3 separate regions of the Homo sapiens genome follow, and regions 2 and 3 are each linked to region 1. Evidence: promoter capture Hi-C in 16 types of primary human blood cells and fetal thymus (Javierre and others, 2016). All regions are on one chromosome and are shown on one strand. Each heading gives the region's core, a stretch centred on a gene start or on the middle of the fragment in contact. The rest is flanking DNA. Distances are from core to core; before and after follow the strand shown.

Region 1 (3,538 bases), core at 107-2,606:
TTTCTAAACCAAGTAGCGTGCATCTATCCTTCTCCATTAGCTGGATTAACAACCTGGAAAAAGTGCCGCCCGCAAAGTGAGCGCCTGGAGCAAGGGACAGTCCCCGAGTGGCCGCCCCTCCCTTTCGGTGACGCTCCACTTCCTGTCGGCCTAAAAGGCATTCCCAGGAAGCTCGGTTTTGTAGTTTCCAGCCCACCTCCGAAAGCCAATCCTTTCCTCCATTTCTTCTCCAAGGTAACAACTTTTAAACATTCACGTGACGGACCACCTTCCCTCAGCCAAACAACTTCCCTGAAAGGCGCCCGAAGGAGCCTTCCCATCCACCGCGGGTGCCCAGGAAAGGCCTGTGGGGCTCTCCTCCCCGCGCTCCACACGCCCTCGCATCCCACCGAGGGGCCAGCTTCTGCCTGCACGTTGCTGAAACTGGCCTGGAGGTTCTGACAAGAATTAGAGCGGCGGCCGTTGCCCCGGGGATGACCTGGAAGCGAAAGAGACCGGCACGAATTCTAGAGTTTCGGGGTTTCCGCGGGTTGAGATTGTACGGGAAACAATGCATTAACCAAACCTAAAAATCAAACAAACACGTCTGGTAGAACCTACCATTAAAAAGCTTCTTTCCTATACTACGTTTAACAGCCTTTATTTTGAAAGACATTGATTGATGCCAGGCATGGTGGCGCACGCCTGAGGTCTCAGCTACTCCGGAGGCTGAGGAGGATCACTTGCGTCCGGGAGTTCCAGGCTGTAGTGAGCCTCATTGTGCTCCAGCCTAGGTGACAGGGCGAGACCTTGTCTCTTAAAAAAATAAAGAAAGAAAAACATTGATCGCCTCCTGCGTGGCAGTCCAGAAGGGTCAAGCGCTGTTTTCGGGGTGGCGTGGAATGGATTCCTAAGATTTGGGCGCCCATAGAGTTAACGCAGCAAAACGATCACTTGCGTTTCCTGCGGACTGGCGGCAATAGAACACGTGGCTGCCTAGACTCTTAATCACTGATATCTACCACACCAGGATTTAATGCCAGTTGGGAGGAAATGGCGAAAGGGCAGGCGCTGGAGCCCATGCATCCGGGAACACTGGTGGTAGGCGGTCGGGTGGGCGTGAGCGGGCTCTCCATCTCCCAGCCCAGTCTGCAGGTCGCCACCTCAGGATTTTCTTCCTGAGTCCGGGTGGCAGGATTCCATCCCAGGTCAGCCCCTCACACCCCCTGGTAGTTGCCACCTCCTGGCGTCCCTCCAACAGCTCCAGCACCTTTCTCATCCCGCCCCCGCCGCAAGCCACGCCCTCCGCCGCGCAGGCCCCGCCCGCGACCGGCCTCCCTCCTTTCCTGTCCCAGGACGCGTTGCGCGGCCCGGGCCGGAAGTAAGCGAATTCCCGGGTGTGTGTCTGTGTCTGTCTGTGTCTCGCAGCGGCGCGCGGCCCCGGACAAGCGCTGGGGATTCCCGTTTGAGGCGTCACTACTGTCACTGCCATCACCCCACGGAGCCACTTCTAGAGGGGAGTAGACCCGGCCCTTCGCCGGGCAGAGAAGATGTTGCCCCTGTCCATCAAAGACGATGAATACAAACCACCCAAGTTCAATTTGTTCGGCAAGATCTCGGGCTGGTTTAGGTGCGGGGTGCTGTGTTTGCGGGGAGGGGGTGTCCGGCAGAAAGGGAGAAGGCCCAGACCTCAGGATGGCCCGAGGTCCAGTGAGGGAGAGTCAAAAACTCCCCGTCAACCCCTAGCTGTGAAGAAAGGAGCATGTGAACTGGGAGGGTCTTGAAGAGGGTACCCAGCCTCGGGGTCCCGGCACCTCCTTAACTCTCCCGGCTCTTTTCCACGTGTATCATTCCCAGGTCTATACTGTCCGACAAGACTTCCCGGAACCTGTTTTTCTTCCTGTGCCTGAACCTCTCTTTCGCTTTTGTGGAACTACTCTACGGCATCTGGAGCAACTGGTAACCAAAGGGGAAAATGGTTTGGGCGGAAGCTGGGTGTGAGGGAGACGAAGCACTGTTTGCTTAATGCCACGTAGCTCCTCACTAGGAGGTTCAGGTCCTACCTTTGTTACCTACCTCTGCTGCTGAGTTGCTTTCTCATACCCACACCAATCTGGTAGGGCTACAGTTCTTGAGTAAGATCTGGGCCTATCCTGTGCAACCTCTCTTGTCACGCTCCCCTCCAGTTCCATCAGACAAGACTGACAAGCCCCTCCTTATTTTAGCAGATGGGCAGAATCTTTCATTTCTAATTGTAGGCCTTAGGTTTACCCACTTTGTTGGAATTGGGAGAAACTTGTTTGCTGCCTCTCTCGGGGGGGAGTGGCATTTGGATTTCACCCTTAAGATTCTGAGAGAGTATATCTGAGATGTTCTACTTAGTTTGTTATTGGGGCTTGGAATGGGAGGTTTTATAAAGTGATATCGGGAGGAATATGTGTCATTCTCTTCTCTCTTTAATGCCGAAACTGTCTCATGATTTTCCTGTAGTCTTAACTGCGATGTAAAAATCCCATATAGTTTCTAGAAACAACATTTCTTGGGTTTTGGTGGCACCTTTGAGGGTTTTTGTTTTTTTTGAAACATCCTTAGGAGGAGGAAAATCTAGTGTGTAACTCTGTGGCAGTGAAGTTACTATTATTCAGGTATTTGCTGTTGAGTAACTTAAGGTCTTATGAAGTTGTTCTGCTAACAAGACTGTCACACTCCTAGGTGTACTAATTCTGTCTTTAGATCCCATACTCCTTCAAAAATCTGATGAAAGCCAATACTCAGAATTGTACATAAAGCTTCAGGATGTTGTTGGGTTCCCTGTACTAAATCTTGGACTCTAGATTAAGAACCTGTTTTCTATTTATTAAATAGACTTAGTCTCTGTTGTTTAAGACCCATTTTCAGAGAAAATCGCTGTCCTTGATCTTCTGTTGAGATCAAACATTGACAGGTAATATCACCAGGTTTTGTGACATGTATACTTTTATATAATGCTTGGGCTTCTTTCAATTCAACCGTCAATTCAGTTCTATAAAAAATACTCAATAACCAGCAGATTATGAAGGTTATTGGTTTAGTCAACAGTTGGGTATAAAGGCATATTGGCACAATGAAATCTTAATATATGTAATAACCATTTTGAATCCTTTGGGAATCAGATGTGTTAATTTGAAGGATACCCCATCATAGATTAATTTTTTAATCCCATAGTATTAACACACTTTAATATACTGTAGATGTTGAAAGCACTTGTACTTGAATAATCATACTTTATCATAAATATATAATATTTACAGTATATTTTACATTTTTCTCTTCCTAAATTATGCCAAATTAATTTTGGGATATGTGCTGATTGTATCAGGAGTGTATCATAGCTTATATATGCATATTTTGTATCAAGAGTGTATCATAGCTTGTATATGCATATTTTGTATCAAGAGTGTATCATAGCTTATATATGCATATTTTGCTACAGATAGTTTCTATTGCAGTGTTTCACTATGGCTTTCCATTACATAAGTCACTCTGTGAAATATCTCATTCAAGAGATTCACACTTGAAG
Region 2 (3,720 bases), core at 465-2,964, 1.1 Mb before region 1:
CTCTGGAAGCTTCATCCCAGAGGGGCACCCACCTGTATGAGGTGTCTGTCAGCCCCTACTGGGAGGTGTCTCCCAGTCAGGCTACACAGGGGTCAGGGACCCACTTGAGGAGGCAGTCTGTCTGTTATTGCAGCTCGAATGCCGTGCTGGGAGAACAACTGCTCTCTTCAGAATGGTCAGGCAGGGATGTTTAAGTATGGAGAAGCTGTCTGCTGCCTTTTGTTCAGATATGCCCTGCCCTCATAGGTGGAATCTAGAGAGGCAGTAGGCCTTGCTGAGCTCCAGTGGGCTCCACCCAGTTCGAGCTTCCCTGCCACTTTGTTTACACTGTGAACATAGAACCACCTACTCAAGCCTCAGCAATGGTGGACACCCCTCCCCCCACCAAGCTCCGGCATCCCAGGTTGATCTCAGACTGCTGCGCTAGCAGCAAGCAAGGCTCTGTGAGCATAGGACCTGCTGAGCCAGGCACAGGAGGGGATCTCCTGGTCTGCAGGTTGTGAAGACCATGGGAAAAGTGCAGTATTTGGGCAGAAGTGTACCACTCCTCCAGGTACAGTCACTCACGGCTTCCCTTGGCTAGGAATGGGAAATCCCCCAACCCCTTGCATTTCCCCGGTGAGGCAATGCCCCACCCTGCTTCAGCTTGCCTTCCATGGGCTGCACCCACTGTCCAACCAGTCCCAATGAGATGAATCAGGTACCACAGTTGGAAATGCAGAAATCACCCATCTGCTTTGTCAATCTTGCTGGGAGCTATAGACCAGAGCTGTTCCTATTTGGCCATCTTGGAAGTGACCAGTGCCCCTAAAGTCTTAACGCATTCCAGTTTCAACTCTAAAGTCTAACATTTAAAGTCTAATATTTTTTCTTAACTTAATAAGGTTTTCTTTAACTTTTGTTTTAAGTTCAGAGGTACATGTGCAGGTTTGTTATTAAAGTCTCTCTAAAAATCATCTAAACTGGATATTGCCGAGACTTGAGATGTAATTCATTATGAGGCAAAATTTTTCTCCAGCTGTGAACCTTTGAAACCAAATATGTTATCTGATTCCAAAATACAATAGTGGGACAGACATAGAATAAACATTCCCATTCCAAAAGAAGAAGCAGGAAAGAAGGAAAGGTAGTTGGTTTCAAGCCAGTTCAAAACCCAACAAGGTATTCCATGAGATCTTAAGCCCGGAGAATAATCCTCTTCAACACTCTGCCTTCTAGGCCTGGTGGTGTTGGGGTGAGGGGGTCATCCCCCTAAGGCTGTACATGGTGGTCTTGGCCCCACAGCTCTGCAGAGAGGTCCTGGCTCCCAAGCTTTGGTCAGAGGCCACCTGGCCTTTTAAAACTGAATGGTGACCGTGATAATCTCTGAATTGCCTTCAGGGCAATTTTTCTCTGTCTTTGAACAGTGCACGTTTATACCCAGATAGCTCTATCGTCTTGTCTTTCAAAATCTAAGAAGTCAAATATCCTTTCTTCATTTTGTCCAACCTCCATCCCTCAGTTCAAGCTGACAGTGCTTCTGCTCCTATAATATCATAAACTCTTTATTGAGTGAAAGTCCAGCCACACCCTTGGTGTTCCTTTCAGAATATGTTTTTGCATTTTTTGCAATATCAATAGGCTGAATTTTCCAAATATTTAAGATCTAGTTCCTTGTTGCTTAACAATCCTTTCTTCAGTTCATCTCTGTCCTCTCACATATTACTATAAACAGTCAGGAGGAACTAAGATACTCCTTCAACACTTTGCTTAGAAATATTCTCAGGGAAATTTCCAGTTTCATTGCTTACCAGTTCTACTTTCCAAAAAAACACTAGAACACAAACACAATTCAGTCAGGTTATTTCCCTCTTTATAACAAGGATTGCCTCTCCTTCAGGTTCCTACATGATCTTTGTTACCATCTGAGACTTCACAAGAATCACCCTTAATATCTATATTTATAGTATGCACCTTAAAACTCTTCCAGCCTCTACCCATTACCCATTTCCAAAGCAACTTCCACATGTTTAAGCATTTGTTACAGCAGCACCTCACTTCTCAGTATCAAAATCTGTATTAGTCTGGGTTATCCATAGAAACAGAACTGCTAAGAGATATAAATAGATAGATATAAAGAAGCTTATAAGAAATTGGGCCAGGTGAAGTGGCTCACACCTGTAATCCCAGCACTTTGAGAGGTCGAGGTGGGCGGATCACTTGAGGTCAGGAGTTCAAGACCAGCCTGGTCAACATGGTGAAACCCCATCTCTACTAAAAATACAAAAGTTAGCTGTGGCATTCATCTCTGGTCCCAGCTACTCAGGAGGCTGAGGCAGGAGAATCACTTGAACCTGGGAGGCAGAGGTTGCAGTGAGCCAAGATCATGCCACTGCACTCCAGCCTAGGCAACAGAGTAAGACTCAAAAAAAAAAAAAGAAATTGGGTCATGTGATTATGAAGACAGATATCCCAAGATCTATAGTCAGCACAAAGGACAGCCAATGGTATGAGTACCAGTCTGAGTATCAGTCCAAAGTCTGACATCCTAGCTTGACAATCATTAGGCAGGGAGAGAATCCTGCCTTACTCACCCCTGTGTTCCTTTCAGGCCTTCAGTGGATTTCCATGAGACCCACCCACATTGGGCAGGATAATCTGCTTTACTCAGTCTACCAATTCCAATGTTAATCTTGGCCAGGTGCGGTGGCTCCTGCCTGTAATCCCAGCACTTCGGGATCGAGGTGTGTAGAGGCCAGGAGTTCAAGACCAGCCTGGGCAACATGGCAAAACCTTGTCTCTACTAAAAAAATACAAAAAAATTAGCTGGGCGTCATGGCACATGCCTGGAGTCCCAGCAGCTAGGGAGGATGAGGTGGGAGGATCACCTGAGCCCTGGAAGGCGAGGCTGTAGTGAGCTGAGATCATGTGCCACTGCAGTCTAGTCTGAGCAATGAGAGTGAGACCCTTTTGCCAAAACAACAACAACAACAACAACAACAACAACCACTGTGGCTCCTATGGTCCATTCAAGTTGACACATAAAATTAACCATCACATCCCCTGATTCCAATTCTTCTTTTCCTATACTCAGTTAAATCCACCCAAATATATGTCTATCCTCACTACTTCATGGAAACTACTTTAGTTGAAGGATTCTTGAACTTTGATCTAGAACTTTGATCTAACAATGCCCTCTGCTTCGTTAAATTAAAATTGCTTATCTTACTTGACAAATTAGGAGGATTTGACATCATCAATTGTCTCCTCCTCCTTGACATATTTCGTTTGACTCTCAGGACACCACACTTTCAGTGTGAACCTGAAACCACGCTGGTTCATCTTTCTTGTCCTTTGCTGGCTCTTCAATTTTTCCATGACCTCTTAATATTAGGATAGATTTAGTTCTTGAATATCTCCTCTTCTTATATGTTTTCTGTTGAAAATTATATTCAATCTCATGACTGTAAACAAATCTGTATGTCCACAACTCTTAAAGATATCTTTAGCCCCAATTCCTCTGCTCAGCTCTCTACTCATTTATTCTATTGCCTCTAATAGACCTCTCAACCTCAGAATGTCCGAAATTGACCTCTTAATTGCCCCTACTTCCAAATCTGCTCCACTCACAGCCTTCTTCAACTCAAGTTATAATTTCCTTTCATCTTACTTGATTTCTTTGTGGCATTGGATACTATTGCTCACTCCAGGTTTCTTGACACTTACTTTCTCAGCTTTGGT
Region 3 (3,892 bases), core at 278-2,777, 1.1 Mb before region 1:
CCAAACCAGTGCCAGATGACGATGAGGACTATGGAGAAGAAGCAGTCCCAGCAAACAAACTGACATTAGACAACCTGGCAGAAGGGTTCCAATTATTCAACAATGCTTTTGCCTTCTTCTACGACATGGACCCTCCTATGATATAGCACTGAAACTAAAGCAAAGCGGGGAAGAATTGGTACCATATAGAAACATTTTTAAGAAAACGAAAAAACAAAAAAGTCAGACAGAAATTACAATGTATTTCTATAAAGTTACACCAGTGTGGTGCCTCTCCTGCCTCCCCTTCCACCTCCTCCACCCACCCCAAGACAGCAAGACCAGCCACTCCTCTTCCTTCTCCTCTTCAGCCCATTCAACATGAAGGCAATGAGAATAAAGACCTTTATGATAATCCACTTCTATTTAATGAATAGTAAATATATTTTCTCTTATTTTCTTAATAAGATTTTTCTCTTGTCTAGCTTACTTTATTGTAAGAATACAGTATATAACACATATAAATACAAAATATGTGTTAATCAACTATTTGTTATCAGTAAGGCTTCTGGTCACCAATAGGCTATTTGTAGTTAAGTCTGGGGGGAGTCAAAAGTTATACACAGATTTCCAATTTCCCCAGGGGTGGGGTCTGCACCTGTAACCTCCACATTGTTCAAGGATCAACTCTAAACACAAACCTGTATATCTTCACAGGTCAAAAGTTGTGACACTTCACTGTCAATCAATGTGAAGGAGCCAATAGGAGGGCCATTCAGATCCTCAGCATTACGCGCTTCTAGGAGAAAGCCTTTAAATGGATGCCCTGACAAAGTAACTGAGAAAAAGACAAAAGGGTTGGTTAAAAAGCTTAGTAATATCAAAAAAAAATGTTTAGAGGTTGTACATTACAATTACAATGAGGTCTACATATGCAAAAGTACTCCTGGAGAGAAAACAGTCATCTTATAGGCAAAGAAGCTCTAAACTTTTTCCATAAAATTTTTTCCAGTGTTCCATAAGATATTCAATCTGTGAGATATTAATAGCCATTCCGCAAAGAGAAAAGAAAAATAGGTGATGGTCCAGGGGCAGTCCATAAGGCTAAGTTAGTTTGGAAAATGCTAGATGATACCAATTGGGTACTATGCTTATCACCTGAGTGATGAAATAATCTGTACACCAAACCCTCGTGACATGGAATTTACCTATAAACAAACCTACACATGTACCCCTGAACCCAAAATAAAAGTTTAAAAAAAAAATGTTTACTTGACCTCATTAGAGGAAAAAACATGAGGTGTTTTCTTTTGAATTGCAGTATTTAACACAGTGTCTGGCTCACAGTGACACTCAATAAATTCTTATTGAATTACAAAAAAAGAAAAACACTGGATGAAAGTAAATACTTGTTTCTTTACTGCAAATTTCTTAGGATATTTAATATCCTACTGTACAGTGTGAACTCTAAGGTATATTATATATCACACAGAATATTCCAAACTTATTTTTCTATATACTCTCTATGTAACAGAGTACCTGTTAACATTTTGCATTTCTAGAGTTGCAAAAAATAGTTTGCAAAATGCTGTTATAGATTTATCTTTAATAATCAGCCTACATTTTACCAGAGAAATTAGAGAATTGTTCTTAAAATTATATGATATCAAGAAGGACAAGGGTTTATTATATTTTAAACAAGATAAAATAAACTTCATTTTTCTCTTCTCTTGAAGTGATAGCACAATTAATAAAAATAGTAAATAACGATAAAAACTTATTTTAAAGCCTGTTCTGGATGGGGAATACACAGACTACTTAAGTAATACAGTCATCTGGAACCAAAAATAAGAAGTATGATAGTATCTTACAAAAGAAAACAGATTTAAGTGAAATCTTCTAAATCAAGTAATAATAAAGATTCAATAAACAGTAAAAGAGTGAAATCCAAAATGTAAACAGTTAATCCCAGCACGGTACCTTCAATCTGATCTCCTGGCCTGAATGTCATCTGACTCACGTAAATGTCATGAACAGGAACAGACTGTGGACTATGACCATGTTCAGGAATCATTCCATGGCATGACTGTGTTACTTTTCCATTGGGATAATTAGCCACATAACTAATGTGCAACAGAAGTATGCAGGTACCAAGAGTAAATCCAGAAACTGCCATCTCAAAAAGAAGGGTAAAAGCCCATTATTGTCATATATAATTAAAATATAAAAGCTTTTACACAACTGGACCATAATTCTAGATAACTACTTGCTTTCTGTGTTCAGCAAACCATATTCTCAACATACCTGATAAAAAGAATGTGATATGTGAAGTTTCACCCGAATTTCAATCTCAGCTCTACAAATTACTGTGAGACTTTGGGCAAATCATTTAATCCTCCACTTCCTTACCTGAAAAATAAGGAAACAAAGATCTCTTTTCAATGCTGTTTTTTTTTTCTCGAGACATAGATCTCGCTCTGTTGCCCGAGCTGGAGTGCAGTGGCACAATCTCGGCTCACTGCAACCTCCGCCTCCCGGGTTCAAGTGATTCTCTTGCCTCAGCTTCCCCAGTAGCTGAGAATACAGGCATGCGCCACCACACCTGGCTAATTTTTGTATTTTGGTAGAGACGGAGTTACACCAGGCTGGTCTCGAACTCCTGACCTTAGGTGATCCGCCCACCTTGGCCTCCCAAAGTTCTGGGATTACAGGCATGAGCCACTGTGCCTGGCCCAATGTTGTTTAAATAAAAATGAAAATATAGCTCAAAATCTGACAAGGAAGATAATAAATAATAGCTTTCTTTATTATCAATTGGAAATAATAAACTAGTCAATAAAAGCAAAAGGTTTTACTCCACGTCATCCTAGAAAGCTTAAAGAACAAAGAAGAAATGTTTCTTCTGGATTTAAATATCATCACCTGAATAAATCTATGATAAGACTTTTCCCAACTTCCTATTAAACTGATCATGATGACTGGGTGGATTATTTAATTTGCAATACTGAAAACTGAGGATAACAGAGAACCAATTGGTAGAGATAATAATTCTACTACATGTAGCCCAGATACTTCTGAATTAAGAAACACAATTGTCAGCCCACACAATCTTCTTCCCTCCCACAGCTCCAATCTTCCTCTTAGCATCTGGATAATAGAAAACCAGCTACTTTACCTCAGTCCCACACTCTTGTAGCCCAGATCAACCACTTTGCTTCATGCATATATTCAAAACCTGCAAATCACAGGACTCAACAAGGCTGGAGGTGATGAGCAGTGACATGATACATGGCAGTAAATAAAGTTAACACCATGGACAGGTTGCAGATGGGAAACACCTAAGAGGCAGTTTATTATTTATAGAAAAGGAGTTTTCTATATCATATATCTGGTCATAGACAATAGCAGCCTTAGAATCACTAGAAAAAATTATTGTTTTTTAGTTATGTCAATCAGGAGCAACTATTTAACCGCAGCCTAACCTGCTGGGGTTTTATCAGAGCCTACATGACCTGGAGGATGGGAAATACCCAATTCCTGCCCACATTAGCCATCCTGTTTCACTTAAGTGGGGGAAGAACCTTGAAGCGGTTGTGAAGTTCACACTCCAGGGGCATAAGCTCACTAAAATACTGAGGTCTACTCACAGGACTACAGAACAGTTCTCCTCCTCCCTCTCCTTACCACCACATTATTAAAGGCCTATTTACAGCAGTTCCTTTTACCCACTGCATCATGTCCAGTTATTAAGAACAAATTACAAGGCATACTGAAAGGCAGAGAACACAATTTGAAGAAATAGAGCAAGCCTCAGAACCAGACTTAGGTATGATGGAGATGTTGGAATTATTAGACCAGGAATTTAAAACATTATGATTAAGATGCTAAATGCTCCAATGGATAAAGTAGATGG

The links. The method cuts DNA at HindIII sites, captures the fragments that hold promoters and counts their contacts. A CHiCAGO score of 5 or more calls a contact.
Region 2: a contact is called between a fragment that was not itself captured here and the fragment with the promoter of SLC30A7 in region 1, in 6 of 17 cell types (naive B cells, naive CD4 T cells, naive CD8 T cells and 3 more). The highest score is 8.9, in naive B cells.
Region 3: a contact is called between a fragment that was not itself captured here and the fragment with the promoter of SLC30A7 in region 1, in 2 of 17 cell types (M2 macrophages and M0 macrophages). The highest score is 6.2, in M2 macrophages.

Annotation. Positions count from the first base shown.
Region 1 is chr1:100,894,734-100,898,271 of GRCh38, forward strand. SLC30A7 (solute carrier family 30 member 7) reads left to right here and starts at 1,357. Exons shown (of 11, transcript NM_133496.5): 1 at 1,357-1,609; 2 at 1,837-1,938. The coding sequence starts at 1,530. EXTL2 (exostosin like glycosyltransferase 2) reads right to left here and starts at 109. Exons shown (of 5, transcript NM_001033025.3): 1 at 1-109. RefSeq lists enhancers at 1-164, 165-887, 782-851, 1,402-1,651, 1,702-1,861. The HindIII fragment of the contact is 2,158 bases long and covers 609-2,766 here.
Region 2 is chr1:99,800,252-99,803,971 of GRCh38, forward strand. No RefSeq gene overlaps it. Among named protein-coding and RNA genes, the nearest start is that of FRRS1, 35 kb to the left of the region's middle. The HindIII fragment of the contact is 810 bases long and covers 1,310-2,119 here.
Region 3 is chr1:99,746,614-99,750,505 of GRCh38, forward strand. It overlaps FRRS1 (ferric chelate reductase 1), which reads right to left. Exons shown (of 17, transcript NM_001361041.2): 2 at 2,284-2,388; 3 at 1,960-2,155; 4 at 681-817. The coding sequence starts at 2,155. Among named protein-coding and RNA genes, the nearest start is that of FRRS1, 18 kb to the right of the region's middle. The HindIII fragment of the contact is 1,360 bases long and covers 848-2,207 here.